Linked DNA regions of Homo sapiens: regions 2 and 3 are each linked to region 1. The links are contacts of gene promoters, found by promoter capture Hi-C in human tissues and cell types (Jung and others, 2019). All regions are on one chromosome and are shown on one strand. The core of a region is centred on a gene start or on the middle of the fragment in contact, and the rest is flanking DNA. Distances in the headings are between cores, read along the strand shown. Region 1 holds the start of TKT (transketolase). Region 2 overlaps CACNA1D (calcium voltage-gated channel subunit alpha1 D). Region 3 overlaps STIMATE-MUSTN1 (STIMATE-MUSTN1 readthrough).

What was found. Contacts are between HindIII fragments. The study calls those that stand out against the background at their distance.
Region 2: a contact is called between a fragment that was not itself captured here and the fragment with the promoter of TKT in region 1, in 2 of the 25 tissues and cell types used here (dorsolateral prefrontal cortex and thymus).
Region 3: a fragment that was not itself captured here is called in contact with the fragment with the promoter of TKT in region 1 in 1 of the 25 tissues and cell types used here (hippocampus).

Annotation. Positions count from the first base shown.
Region 1 is chr3:53,253,906-53,258,334 of GRCh38, forward strand. TKT (transketolase) reads right to left here and starts at 2,117. Exons shown (of 14, transcript NM_001064.4): 1 at 1,931-2,117. The coding sequence starts at 2,037. RefSeq lists a silencer at 1,714-2,403. The HindIII fragment of the contact is 27,166 bases long and covers 1-4,429 here.
Region 2 is chr3:53,716,911-53,721,339 of GRCh38, forward strand. It overlaps CACNA1D (calcium voltage-gated channel subunit alpha1 D), which reads left to right. Exons shown (of 48, transcript NM_001128840.3): 10 at 1,391-1,478; 11 at 2,845-2,871. Among named protein-coding and RNA genes, the nearest start is that of CHDH, 130 kb to the right of the region's middle. RefSeq lists enhancers at 1-404, 1,368-1,948, 1,949-2,529. The HindIII fragment of the contact is 4,874 bases long and covers 1-4,429 here.
Region 3 is chr3:52,890,256-52,894,684 of GRCh38, forward strand. The region is part of intron 1 of STIMATE-MUSTN1 (STIMATE-MUSTN1 readthrough); the gene reads right to left. The region is part of intron 1 of STIMATE (STIM activating enhancer); the gene reads right to left. Among named protein-coding and RNA genes, the nearest start is that of STIMATE, 5.1 kb to the right of the region's middle. The HindIII fragment of the contact is 5,072 bases long and covers 90-4,429 here.

The DNA of each region.
Region 1 (4,429 bases), core at 867-3,366:
AGCATTCCTGACAGCATGAGCCCCAACCAGACAGTACGGAATGGCCACCAATTCCCAGCCTGGGCAAGTAACTTAACACACTAGCCTCAGTGTTCCCGTCTATAAAATGTGAATACAACACAATCTATCTCACAGGGTTATTCTCAGGATGCAACAAACGATGATGCTGTGTCATACCAGATACCTACTTGGCAGCTCAGGAACCCTGTAAACATCTGCATGTTTTATCTAGCCCTGAAAGATGCTCAGATGTGCAATACTACTTAGTTGGGTAATTGCTGCCTCTCTCCAGCTAGACCTCAGACCCCCTGAAACGGCCAAAGGTAGCAGGTCCAACAGTACCAAATAAGCAATACAAGGCCTGCAGAGCTACCGTGTGCCAGGCTGGTGAAAGGGGAGCTGAGAGTAAGCCAGGTCCCTGCCCAGGCAGGGGATACCCCACATAAGTGGTAAGACTGACACAAACCCAGGAGAGCTAACAGGTCCAAAGTGTGCAAGGCAGTGGGTGGGGGAAGGGCTTTGAAAGACATCTAATCCCTTCTGAGAACAGGGTGTCTTAGAGGCACAAAGGGTGAATGCGTATCCACCCAGAAAGGTGAACAGATTTACTTCTTAATAATATATCCTGAATGAAATTGGCCAGAAGCCAGAATCTTGTCTGTCTGAAACAGAGCTTGTTTGGGAAGGTCCCGAGAAATCATCCATCACGCAGCCCTCACAACCCTGTCATGAGCCCGGAGCACTGCTGGCACTGTGGCCTCAAAGCAGCCTCCAAGTAGAGCACTGGAGTCCTTGAAACCACCCAGCGTGGTTAAGTGCCATTACTGTCCCCGCTTTACAGAGCGGGAAGCAGGCTCTGAAGTAATTCACTGACTGACCCCCTCACCCACCCCACTGGACACCTCCAGCTGCATGCACGGTGGCCCTCATTAATTATCCCTGTCTCCGCTACAGAGGAGGCTCCTTGGGTGTCCACCTTCTGGGCCAAAAGGGCTGGCCAGGGAAGGATCTTGGGGCCTAGGCACGCCAGCTCCTGCCTGGGAGATACAGCACCTGGTGGCTGGCCCTGCCCCAGGACGTCACTCCCGGCGCTAGGGCCCTGGAACTCCGTCCTTCCGGCGCTCAGCCTTCTCAGTCTCCTTGCCCTCCGCCTCCTCCCGCCCCAGGTCAAATCTTAGACCTCCTTTTCACAATGGATCCCAGGGTTCTGCACCCACGTGCCACCGCCCTCCTCCCCTCTTCCCCCAATCAGCCCCGCCGCTGCCTGGCGTCTCAGCAGCCCCCTGCTCCAAACTCGGACCCAACCCAGGGGTGGCAGGAGACAGGGGTAGGGGAGCGTAGTCTGAGGTGGGGAGAAGGCCGGGCCCCCGAGTCTCCTGCAAGAGGAATTAAAAACAGGGTCTCTAGAGTCGGACTGCTGGGGCTCAAATCAGATCTCCCTGTGTGTAACTTTGGGTAGCTGACTAACTCGGAGCCTCCGTTTCCCCATCTGGAAGGGGGAACACTCCCGGCGGCGCCCACACAGCCAGGTGGTGGAGAGGGTTAAGAGGGCCGCGTTCTGTAGAACAGCAGTAATGGTGGCCTTCCCGGCATCACCCTAGAGGGTACTTGGCGAGTCGCGAGCCCATCCCCCGCGCCACCATGCAGCTGCGCGGCCGGCGATCCGCGTGGGGAAGAGCCGGCCTGAGGCGCACGGAGGACCAGAGGCCCACGCGGCCGAGCCCGGGCGTAGGGCGAGTGTGCGGCGCAGCGGAAGCCGCCTGCAGCCCGGGGCCCTGCGAGGCGCGCGTCTCCGCCCTCCGACGGCGCCCGGGCCACCTTCCTCGTCTAGGCATCTCGCAGCGCGACCCAGAGCCCGCGGCGACTCTGGCCGCCGCAGACGCCCCCCGCCCCGCCCGAGCCGCGTCCCCGGCCGGCGCCGCGCACTCACCCAGAGCCCGCCGCAGTGGTGGCCTGGATGGAGCTGATACGTAGGCGGTTGGCCGTGTCCTTCAAGGCCTGCAGCTTCTGCTGGTCAGGCTTGTGGTAGCTCTCCATGGTGCGGCAGGCGGGGACCGGGCGCACACGCGGACACACAGAGATAGCGGCTGCTCCCGCGGCGACAGGCGGCTGCCGAGGCCGGGCGCGGGGCGGGGGCGCGTTAAGTCGCCGGGCGGGGCGGGGCGGGGATGGGAGAGGCGGGGCAGGGGGAGGAGGCGGGGCTCGGATCACCCCAGGCCTTCAGCCCCGCCCCGCCTGGGGCCGCCTCCTGCCCGCTCCCCTCCCCTAGGCGCTGGGCCGCTGCGGACTGCGAGGTTAGCAGTTAACCACACACACCAATAATAATAACATAACGAACAACTCAGGATTCGAGTCTGGGCTCCTGACTCGAAAGCCTCTCAGTCTCCCTCCTCCACACAGTCCTCCGTGGACTTGTCACGGCGAATCCCATTTTAGAGATGGACAAACTGAGGCTTGGCAAGGGCAATCAAGGTCACAAGGCTGGTGGGTGCCAGGCTTGGCCCCAGCCGACCAACCCCAGGCCCAAGAGACTGCAGGACTTAATTTTGAGACTGAGTTTCGCTGTTGTTGCCCAGGCTGGAGTGCAATGGCATGATCTTGGCTCACCACAACCTCCGCCTCCTGAGTTCAAGCAATTCTCCTGCCTCAGCCTCCCTAGTAGCTGGGATTACAAGCATGCGCCACCACACCTAGCTAATTTTGTATTTTTAGTAGAGACGGGGTTTCTCCATGTTGGTCAGGCTGATCTTGAACTCCCGACCTCAGGTGATCCGCCTCGGCCTCCCAAAGTGCTGGGGTTACAGGGGTGAGCCACCGCACCAGGCCCTATTTCTTTTTTCTAATAATTAAAAAACTTGTTTTTTCTTTGAGACGGGGTCACCCATGGTCACCCAGGCTGGAATGCAGTGGAGTGATTACAGCTGCCTGAAGCCTCAGCCTCCTGGGCTCAAGTGATCCTTCTGCCTCAGCCTCAAAAGTAGCTGGGACCATAGGTACACACTACCACGCCCGGCTAATTTTTGTATGTTTTGTAGAGATGGGGTTTTGCCACTTTACCCAGGCAGGTCTTGAACTCCTAGGCTCAAGCCATCTGCCCTCCTCTGCCTCCCAAAGTGCCGGATTATAGGTATGAGCCACCATGCCCAGCCACTCAGGGCTTTAGAGCCCTGCACAGGGGATGGGGATTATTGAAAATGAGAATAGGATAGTGGTAGCCATGACAATGCCAGGTGATGATAACTGAGAAATTACTAGGGGAAGATCCTTTACAAATTATTAGGGCCTAGAAACACTACTGACTTTTAGGGAGATTATTGGGTTTGCTTCCAGGTCTGTAGGGACAGGGGCACCCACCACTACTGTTATCAGACCCCATGGTTCCCAGAGGTATGAAGCTCCCCAGAGTGGGATTAGGGAGGGGACTTTCATCACAGACACTGTTTCATTCAATCTGCCCACCACACTTGGCCAGTGAGGTACATACTGCCTACAATGCCTATTTTACAGAGGAAGAAGCTCCATTTGACAGAGGAAAGATAAAGGCAAGACCCTCAAACGGATGGCTGGGCAGGGAGCTAAAACCCTGAGAGATCCAAGAGGCACCAGTGGCCGCCCTGTGTCCTCTGTGTCCTCCCTGCATTGCCCATACTCAGAGAGCTCTGGCTCATGAGGCGATTGACTGAATTTGAGTGAGTCCCCCAGCTCGCCTCCAGGTGCTCCTCTGCTGGCCTGACCCCCAGATGCCCAATCAGACCCTAAGTATGGCATCCCATAGCACCTGGCTCCTGCTGGCCCAGCCCGCAGAGGCTGGCCCTATGGTGTCTGGCTGGTGAGGGCTATGGGCTAGGATTGGAGGGGGGCCCCACAGTGTGCCACCCTCAGATGCCTGGCAGGTGCCACCTCTGCCCTCAAGCTGCTCACTGTCTGGAAAAAGGGCAAACCCTTGAAACCCTTTGAAAGCTCTGTGCCTTCCAACTCTGTGGCCCTTAGAGCAGTGGCTCCCTAAGGGAGTGGACTCCATTTCCCCATCTGCCTAATGGGACTCATCCTTATCACTCTGGTCTCTGACAATGGCACAGAACTCACCATGGCTCTGGGGACCTAGGAGTAATGGAAAGAAAATTGTCCCCTCCCCACCACCTGGAGCTCCAGGGACCTCAGGGAGGCTCTCTCTCCTCCTGGTGTTCCACATGAATGGGGCCTGTGATACTATGATATGCATATACAGGCCCCTGGCTTAGAACTGCCCCCAACCCTTGTTATACCACTGGGGTGCTTTAGACCTCAGGAGCAGACCCCAGAAACAGAGTCTCTCAGGCCTTCTCCTACCTTCCTTTCACCTGCTCCTTTCTCTCCCCATGGCAGGATCTTCTCCTGCCGGTCTGTCTTGGAGCTGGCCATAAGTAAGTTCTCTCACCTACCTCGTGTA
Region 2 (4,429 bases), core at 838-3,337, 460 kb after region 1:
CCTTTATGAAGTCTGCTATGAGCAAGGCGGGCCGAACACAGCCCCCTACGCGAGCTGCCTGATCCAGCTCCTTTCCCCCTGAGCCTGGGCTGGGCCTCAGAATCTTCGCCATAGCGCTTCCAGCCCACTACCAGTATTTGCAGATGAAACTTGAGGCATCCTTGCTAAGGGGAGCCACACGGGCAGAGCCCATGGGCCAAGCTTTCCTGAAGACATCGTAAGGTCTGTAAAAACAGTCACTACAGTTCAAAGCCATGCCTCAGGAAAAAGGAAGTACACGTGGATTCTCTTCCGTGACTTCCTCTTTTACCTCTGCACCCCGGCAGAATTAATCCTTCTTTACTCTGGAACCTCCTGCACAGACCCCTGAGGTAGCTCTCTTCACAGCTGATGGAAGTGAGCTGGGGGCTGCCTGTCCCTCACCCCTATTCCAGGTGGGTGCAGTGCTGTGTGCCCTCTTTTTGCCCCTGCCCTCCTCCACTGCCTGGGCTCCAGCACGTGTTCGTGATGTTTATGGGGTTGAATCAAGTGGATGAGAAAAGACGCTCGTGCACCAGATGGTGGCCCTGGGTGGACCCTGGACCTCCACACACTAGTGGGCGTGTTTCCACATTTCCTCTACTTCCGCTCAGGATCCTACCATGGAGAAGTGGGATGGGCCCAGAGACCCTAGTCATACTGAGACCAGAGTCAACCTTGCCCTCTGCTCACTGGTTGATAATGATCTTCTTCTTCCACTCGTAACACTATAATTCCTTGGTGCTCTAGTTGTTCTTACCCAGCTTACTGGGTAAGAACTTTCTGTGTATTGGCTTCACAAGCTCAGCAGAACTTCAGCATCAGGTAAAATAGCAAAAAAATAGAGTTCTTAACTCTAAAAAATGTTGTGCATGGTACCTTCATGCACTGCCTTCCCCATTCACAATAGCTCTTCTCCCTCAGTATATTTAAGATGATTGACTCATGAAATGTTAGGGTTATTCACAGATGTTCTATATGCACCTTTTGGGGCAAGCAAAGATGTACCTGTAAAGTACATTTTGGTGGCTTCTCAGTGTGATCCCAGAGATGAGGAGGATAAAGTGGTGCTATACCCAGCCACAGGATTCACTTTGATCCCTTAGCTTCCTTTCTTGGAAATGTCTAGGGGGATAGAATGTCCTCCTCGAGGGGGACTGTGTTTCCTACAGGCCATGGGTGCAGAGACTCGCCTGCAGTGGAGATGCCTGGCTCCTTGGCACTCCCTTAGCCCAGCTGAGGCCCTGAGGGCCCTTTTCACCCTCCTCCTGGGTTCCGGAGGTCTGCCTGGTGGCAGAGGCTCCCACCTGGCCTGCCTCCCAGGCGTGCAGTGTGCCCCGCATGCTCTCTGAAGCCCGTCTTCTCCCCACAGCTAGCATGCCCACCAGCGAGACTGAGTCTGTGAACACAGAGAACGTCAGCGGTGAAGGCGAGAACCGAGGCTGCTGTGGAAGTCTCTGGTGAGTGTGGGGAGCACTTGCCCTCTTTCCCCTCCTGTTGTCTCAGAGAAGCAGGTGGTGAGGAAGACCGCCCAGGCTGCAGCAGAGCCCCGGGCCATCGCCTTGGGTGTGGCGGGTGGGAAGGCTCCTCGTACCCCACGCCACGCTTCCTCCTGTGCCAGGGCTATCCCTCCTGCACACCTCCCCACCCCCCGCCCCCCCGCCCCCCGGCCCAGCATTTCACATGCCTCTTCCTGTAAGTAGAGCCCGTGAAGAATGTGGTGGTTAACCTGGCCACCTGCTGTGTCCATTAGGTGCTGGTGGAGACGGAGAGGCGCGGCCAAGGCGGGGCCCTCTGGGTGTCGGCGGTGGGGGTAAAGGCCTGATTCTCCTTCCAGCCTGGGTTTGGCATTTGTGCTTTTGAAGAAGAGCTTCTGTGGCAGAGTTGCTGACTAGAATGTGCTACGTATTTAAGTTTTCCTTTGCTCATGGGACCTTCCTAACCTCAGGCCTGGCGGTTGGATGACGAGGCCCTGCCTTCTTGGTGCCTGGCACTTTTTCCCTGGAGCCCTGCACCAGCCTCTCCTCATGATGGAAGGCACCATTGCATTAACACTCACTGGCTTTTTTCTAGATGATTTGGGCTGTGGCAGCTGGCGGGGGGGCTGGGGGGGACCAGCAGTGCAGAATGTGCTGGGCACTGTCTGCCGTGGGGGAGCCCTGTGCGGTTTGGTTTTGTTTGCTTCTTGCTGGTATCCTTCAGGTCTTATCTCTGTAAAGTGCAGGTGTCATTTTTAAGAGAACTCAATCTTACTCTTGGCAGAGTTTCATAAAAATGATGTGTTATGGGCAGAATATGCAACCATTTGTGAAGTGATTTTGCCTCCATTCTCTTGCTCTGCCCTCTCTGAGACATCATGAAGCAGACAGAGAATGGGTTTGTCATCCCCACTTTACAGATGAGAATGCTGAGGCCCAAGACCTGCTGCTTTCCCATACTCACCCAGTGGGAGAATGGCAGTGCTGGGACTCCTAGTGCAGTGCTCCCTCTGCGGTAGTAGCAGCAAATGCTGCTGTCGAGATGAGTGGCAGGAGAGACTCTGCTGCCTTCATTTTGGCCCCTGCATCACTGCCTGCTGCCAGGGCCTGCAGGGAATCTGGCCGAGTCTTCCCTGACCTGGGCCTCGAGGGTGCTCAGTCTGCTCCTCTGGCCCTGGCAGCATCCTAATTTCTGCTCTGGCCTTGCCCCTGCTGGCCTGCTGTGGTAACCAGGGGTGCTAAGTCCAGGCTGTATGCATGGCTTTTATGATATCTCAGCTGAAATGATGGGGAGTGTGTGCTCAAGCCCTCGGAACCAGAATCTTAACACTTTTTGTCTTTCTTTCAGTCAAGCCATCTCAAAATCCAAACTCAGGTCAGTATCTTCTTTCTGTTTCTTCGTCAGCCTGTGTGTTGCCTTTGTATGTTCTCACTTCTGAATTTTACGTAGTATTGCTCTGGACTTGAGTTTTCCTCTGTGGATTATAACATTGATACTGAATTGCAGTCAGTCAATTGAATCCTATGAGCCTGGCTTAGGGGGAGATCTTAGGTGCCAAAGATCTCCCTCAAAGTAAACCAATAAGACTCAGTAACGAGTTTTGCCTCCCCATTAATCCTCCTTATCCTCTGAGTCATTTTCCTAAGAGAGCTGCTGCTTGTCACTTTTCTGCTCGAAAGCTTTCCATAGAAAGGGAGTTCAAGAAGTCTTCCAAGGTACTAGCATTTCTTGATGTGCATGCGGGTTACGTGTTCAGTTGGTAAAACTCATTGAACCATATACCTATGATTAGTGTACTTTTTCATCTGAGTGTCATTTTTCAACAAAAACATTTTCCTACTATATATAAACACTAACTTAAAATAGGCAAAGACCTAAATATAAAATATAAAATCATGAACATTCCAGAAAGAAAACAGGAGAAAGTCTTTGTGATCTTGAGTTATGCAAAGGTTTCTTAAGATACAACACCCAGTATACTTTCTGTAACAGAAAACAAACAGATAAATTGGTCTTTGTCAAAATTAAACTTCTGTTCTTCAAAAGAAAAGAAAAAGGTTAGCTTCAGACTTGGAGAAAAATATTTGCAAAGCATATTTGATAAAGGACTGGTATCCCATATATATAAAGATTAATGCATAAAGGAGAGTGTCAATAATAGAAAAACCCAATAAAAAATGGGCAAAATTTTTAATAGGCATTTCACCAGAGAAGAGATGTGGATGGCAGATAAGCACATGAAATGACCATCAGTTGTTACAAAAATGCACATTAAAATCACAGTTAGATACCACTACACATCTATTAGAGTGAATCAGATTTAAATATCTGACAATGACAAGTTCTGACAAGGATGCTGATTGGTGGGAACTTTCATACAGTGTTGATGGACATGTCAAATGACACAGCCGTTAAAAAAATAGTTTGGTAGTTCCTCATAAAGTTTAAACATATATTTACCACGTTTATATTTGGCCCAGCCATCCCACTTCTAAGGTGTTTGTATAAGAGAAATGAAGATATATGCCTACATACAAAGTTGTAACATGAATGTTTGTACCAGTTTTATTCATGCTTACCCCAAGCTGGAAGTAACCCAAAGGTCCATCAAATGTGAATGGGTAGACACACTGTGGTTCACCAGTATGATGGAGTACTAGTTCATGTCTGCTGAGTTATGCATCCTAGGAGAAACCCAGCTGTGAGCGGGACAGTCTTTAGTGTCCTTAGTAGAGTTTTTCCACGCTGGCCAACATGTTAGAAGCTGCTCTTTCCATTGGAACCTGCACAGCAAGAGTAATAATAAAATACACCTTACTTGATCCAGGTTTTGGTAAAGAGTTGGCACAACTCTTTCTCTGCTCACTTCCTGGGTTACAGATTTTCTTTTTGCCTAGCAACACAGCTGAGTCAGCCAGGGCTGCAGCTTGGG
Region 3 (4,429 bases), core at 1,376-3,875, 360 kb before region 1:
ATCCAATAGCGGGCTTGGCACCAAAGTACTTAAGAGATCCTGATAGTCCACTGTTCTTATACTTTGGAAACAACACACTGACCTTCTAATCTGTTCTTCTAGAGCAAATATGAGTTTGCTGAGAAATTCACAAACTGAACCGATGCAGTGGTTCTTAAATAGGGGCGATTTGGCCCCCCAGGGGGCAGTTGGCAATGTCGGGAGACATTTTTGGTTGTCACAATGAGAGATTCTACTGGCATTTAGTGGGTAGAGGCAGGCTGGGGATGCTGTTAAATGCCTTGCAATGCACAGGAGAGCCTCCCACAAGAAAGAATTATCTCATCCAAAGTACCAACAGTGCCAGGCTGAAAAACTCTGGATTCAATGGATAGCTTTCCTAGCAGTGGAGTAATCTAAAAGAGACTCACCAACTGCTTCTATGCATACACAAGGAAAAGGATAATTCTTCTGGGTAAACCTCAAGATTATTAATGACCTTCCTTATAGTCATATGGCAACCAACAGGGAAATGAACTCTGTGAAACTCAGCAGGTAACCTGAAGCCACCCAGAGCCCTGCAGACCCTTCCTCACCAGCGAGTAAAGGGACTCCGTGCTGCCTGCTTCTGCTGCTCTGGGGTAGGGCGGGGGTGCCTTCGCCTCAGATGCTAGACCTCAGCCTTGGGGTAGAATCACCACCCTCTGCCCAGGCAAGGAAAATCTTCACAAAGGCCCAGAAAAGCAGACCTAGCGTGTGACTCATGTAGGCATGAAATGATTGATGAGTCATTTCAAATTTATATTTTTAATGTTATCAACAGTCAAAAAACAATAATGCTTTAAATAAAATTAAATAAAAATAATTATCAAGAAAGAAAATCAGAATTGTTCAGATAGAAAAAAAATGAGGTGAAGTAGCCACAGATACGGAGTAATCAGAAAGTGAACCTGTGTGGAAAGAGGGGTGGAAAAAGCCGGCAGGCACAGAGGAAGTGGCTCAGGGTGTCTGGGGTCCCAGGGACCCGGCTTACATTTCAGTTCTGCACTTACTAACCAGGAGCCCTTGTACAAGGCACTTCACCTGCTCACCGACCGCTTCTGTACAGGGTTCCTGTGAGGGGGGTTGGCATGCTGGGAACTCAGTGAAGAGTAGGCTGCAGAAAAGAGGCCGGCTCCAGGGGCCAGCGCCACCACCTACTACCATGGGCCCTGGGCAAAGAAAAGCCAGCGACTTGAAGCAGGTTCATCACCTGGAAGTGGGGCAGCCCCAGGCACCCACTGCCCTCTCTCTCAGAGCCCACATGAGGGCCCTGCCGGTAAAAACACAAGAAAGATTAGGTCAAGGAAGATTATTTTGGCCACGAAAGCCACCTTGTTTTGGCGCATGCTAATCTGGATTCACACTCACTGTGCTGGCTGGGCTAAAGGTGCTTTTCTTTCTTTCTTTTTTTTTTCACTGCCATGCACTCTGTGAAGAGGGCTAAAGGTAAAGACATTGTACAAACAAGAAAGAAAGGGGAATGTTTAACCTAATTCAGAAAATAAGTTACTTAAGCACTTGTGAAACATTTTTCAGCCCAACTCATGAATACAATGTAATAACAAGGATGAAGACACACCCCCAAGGAGGGCCTAACATGTGCCTGACACCAACCCAGCTTCCTCAAACACATTCTTTCTCATCTCCATAGCCCCAGAAAAGACAGATTATTACCACATGTTACTGGGGAGAAAACTGAAGCTTTGAGAAATGCAGAAGTTGCTCAGGGGCACCACATGGCAGAGCGAAGCAGACATGGATGCTGGGTCAGGCTGGATCCAGAGCCAGGGATCCTGTTATTTTTAACCACTTGTAAAACCCCTTCAACAAATCTTCATGTTTGTGCAAATATACTAACTGCAAAAGACTTTAAACAGATATTAAAGCAGCAGAAGCATGAGAGGCCCCAACAGGGCAACATGTGGCCAACAGAGGTATTCAAAAGTTTAAAAAAAATGCATTTGGTAAGTTATTCTACAACTCAGATTGTCCCCTAATTCAGACAACTTCCTGTTGTCCTGATTTTATTCGAAATTAATGAAGTTACATGATAAATCAAGCAGCAGATTGCCATTATGGATAAATGCTACCAAATAAATAAACATTTAGAAAACCTGAAAACTTTCTAAAAATGAAAGCTCTGAGCCAGCCAGTATGCTAACATTGGCCACAACACCAGCTTGGCATGAAAAAAGGGGCGTTCTTCCTTTGCCCATGCTGGCACTCCAGAAGGAGGAAAGGACAGCGACACTGATTGAGTTTGTGCTGGGTTCCAGACCCAAAGACAGGCGCCTTCACTCGTGAGCTCCAGCTCCAATTCAGCTGTCACTGTATTCTGTTATTTTACCAGGAGGAGGTGATCACTGGGTGAAAGGCTACTGGGAAACAGAGTATTCACATGATCTCAAAGTATTATCACTGCAGAGATCCCTTATTAATTGCCCAGGGGAAGATGTACCTTTACGAGGGAGAGACTGAGAGGTCTTCCATCCACCATCACCAAGTCATCAACCTTATTAACACTAATAGTGGGGCAGCGTGATGTCACATGCCTCCTGGTGGAATGTACATGAAACATACAGCGCCGCTTATGGCGTGTTCTTGCCATAAAACTGGGTATCTGAATCTAATAACTGCTCCAGACCAAACTCAGGAAAACAGGGGCCAGTGAAACAATTCAAACACCACAAGGAAACACCCAGACAACTCCAGAATGTGGGGCACTCCACACAACAAGCAGCCAGAACTCTTCAAAAAGCCAGAAACATTGAAAAAAAAAAAAAAGTGTGCATGTATGTGTAGGAGGAGGTTCTTCTAGAAACGAAAGTGACTGAAAACGTAACCAGACACAACGTGTGGACCTTGATTGGATCTTAGCTTTTAAAAACTCCAGCTATAAAAGACTTGTGACATTTGGGGAAATGTGACTATGGACTGGATATGAGATGATATCATGGAGTTATTATTAATTCTCTTAAGTATGATGATGAAATTGTGGTTATGTGGGAGATTGTCCTTATTTTGGGGAGACTTAGCTGAAGTATTTAGCAGTAAAGTGTGATGCTGGTCACAATTTACCTTCAAATGGCTCAGCCAAAAAAAAAAAAGCATAAAGAGGTAAAGCAAATGTGACAAAATGTGAACAACTGCTAAATCTAGGTAGAGGGCAGACAGATGTTCAGTGTATTATTTTTCATGTTTTCTACGTTTGACATTTTTAGAGATAAAAACCAGGATGGGGTGGGGAGAGGTGATCGTAGGGAAGGTTGTGCCAACACAAGCCTGTTCACACAGAGCACACAGGGAGGCCGGTTTACCACGGAGAAAACCCCAGAAACTCTCATTTAAGATATCAAAGCTGAGTGGACTGGTTTGTGATTTTTACTTTGGATTGCAGGAAAAAAGTTATCACTTCTCAATGTTAGCAGTGTTTTTGTAAAACATGGACACATTTCTCCCAGCTGGCTAGGCCCCATGTCTATAACAAAAATAGGCAGGCAGATTTATCCAAGCTCTCAAAATGCTTGTTTTATTAAAAACCAATTCTGTCTACACTTCAGCCCAGAACCCTGACTGTGCACGGTGAGGGAGGCTTGAGTTTGCTTTGCATTCACATGTCCTGAGAGCAAACACCCCCAAATGCCAACACACACACTGGCCAACACGACCTTTGGCTGACAGCTGGTTGGCTACCCTGCACTGGAACAGTTTGCTGAGCTCTAGGACTGCTTAGCTCTGTTCTGCTGAGACCCTAGCTGAGCAACTTTGTCAAGTCACAGACTATAGACAAAACCACCAAAACGAGGAATTGCTTAAAACCACCAAAACGAGGAATTGCTTGGCAAAGCCCCCTCGTTTAAAGCGTTTCTTTCTATGCAGATACCTAGCAGACACTTCAGAAAACTCTAAGTGGAAAGTATCTTCATAAGCTTGTCTCTGAGTATGTTCATCTTTCCTTGCGTACACAGGGTACCTTAGCTGGAGCCTCTAGGAAGCCCGCCAACTCAACAAGGCAGTGCTGACACTGGGACATGTGTGTGGGTGGTGCCTGTAACAGTCTGCATGTTTATGCAGCTTGAATAATGGGCTACCATGTATGACCTGGCATATACATTCTCAACTGCCTGGACCAAGAGGGTCTATAAACCCTACATAGTAAGGCAAGAAGTCTATCAAAGCACCAGAATGAGAAATTCTTGCAGAACCAGAATCCTCCCCAGAGACATTAATATATATAAGTAATCTTCCTTCAGGACAAACCTCTCCAGATTAAAAACAAAGAAACAAACAAACAAAAACAAGGCAACGTGTAAGTGGAGAAAAAAGTGATTTTTCTGGATAGAAAAAGGAACATAAAGACAGTGGTCTGAGGGGTCACTGAAATCAGGGAGGTGAAGTAAGGAAAACT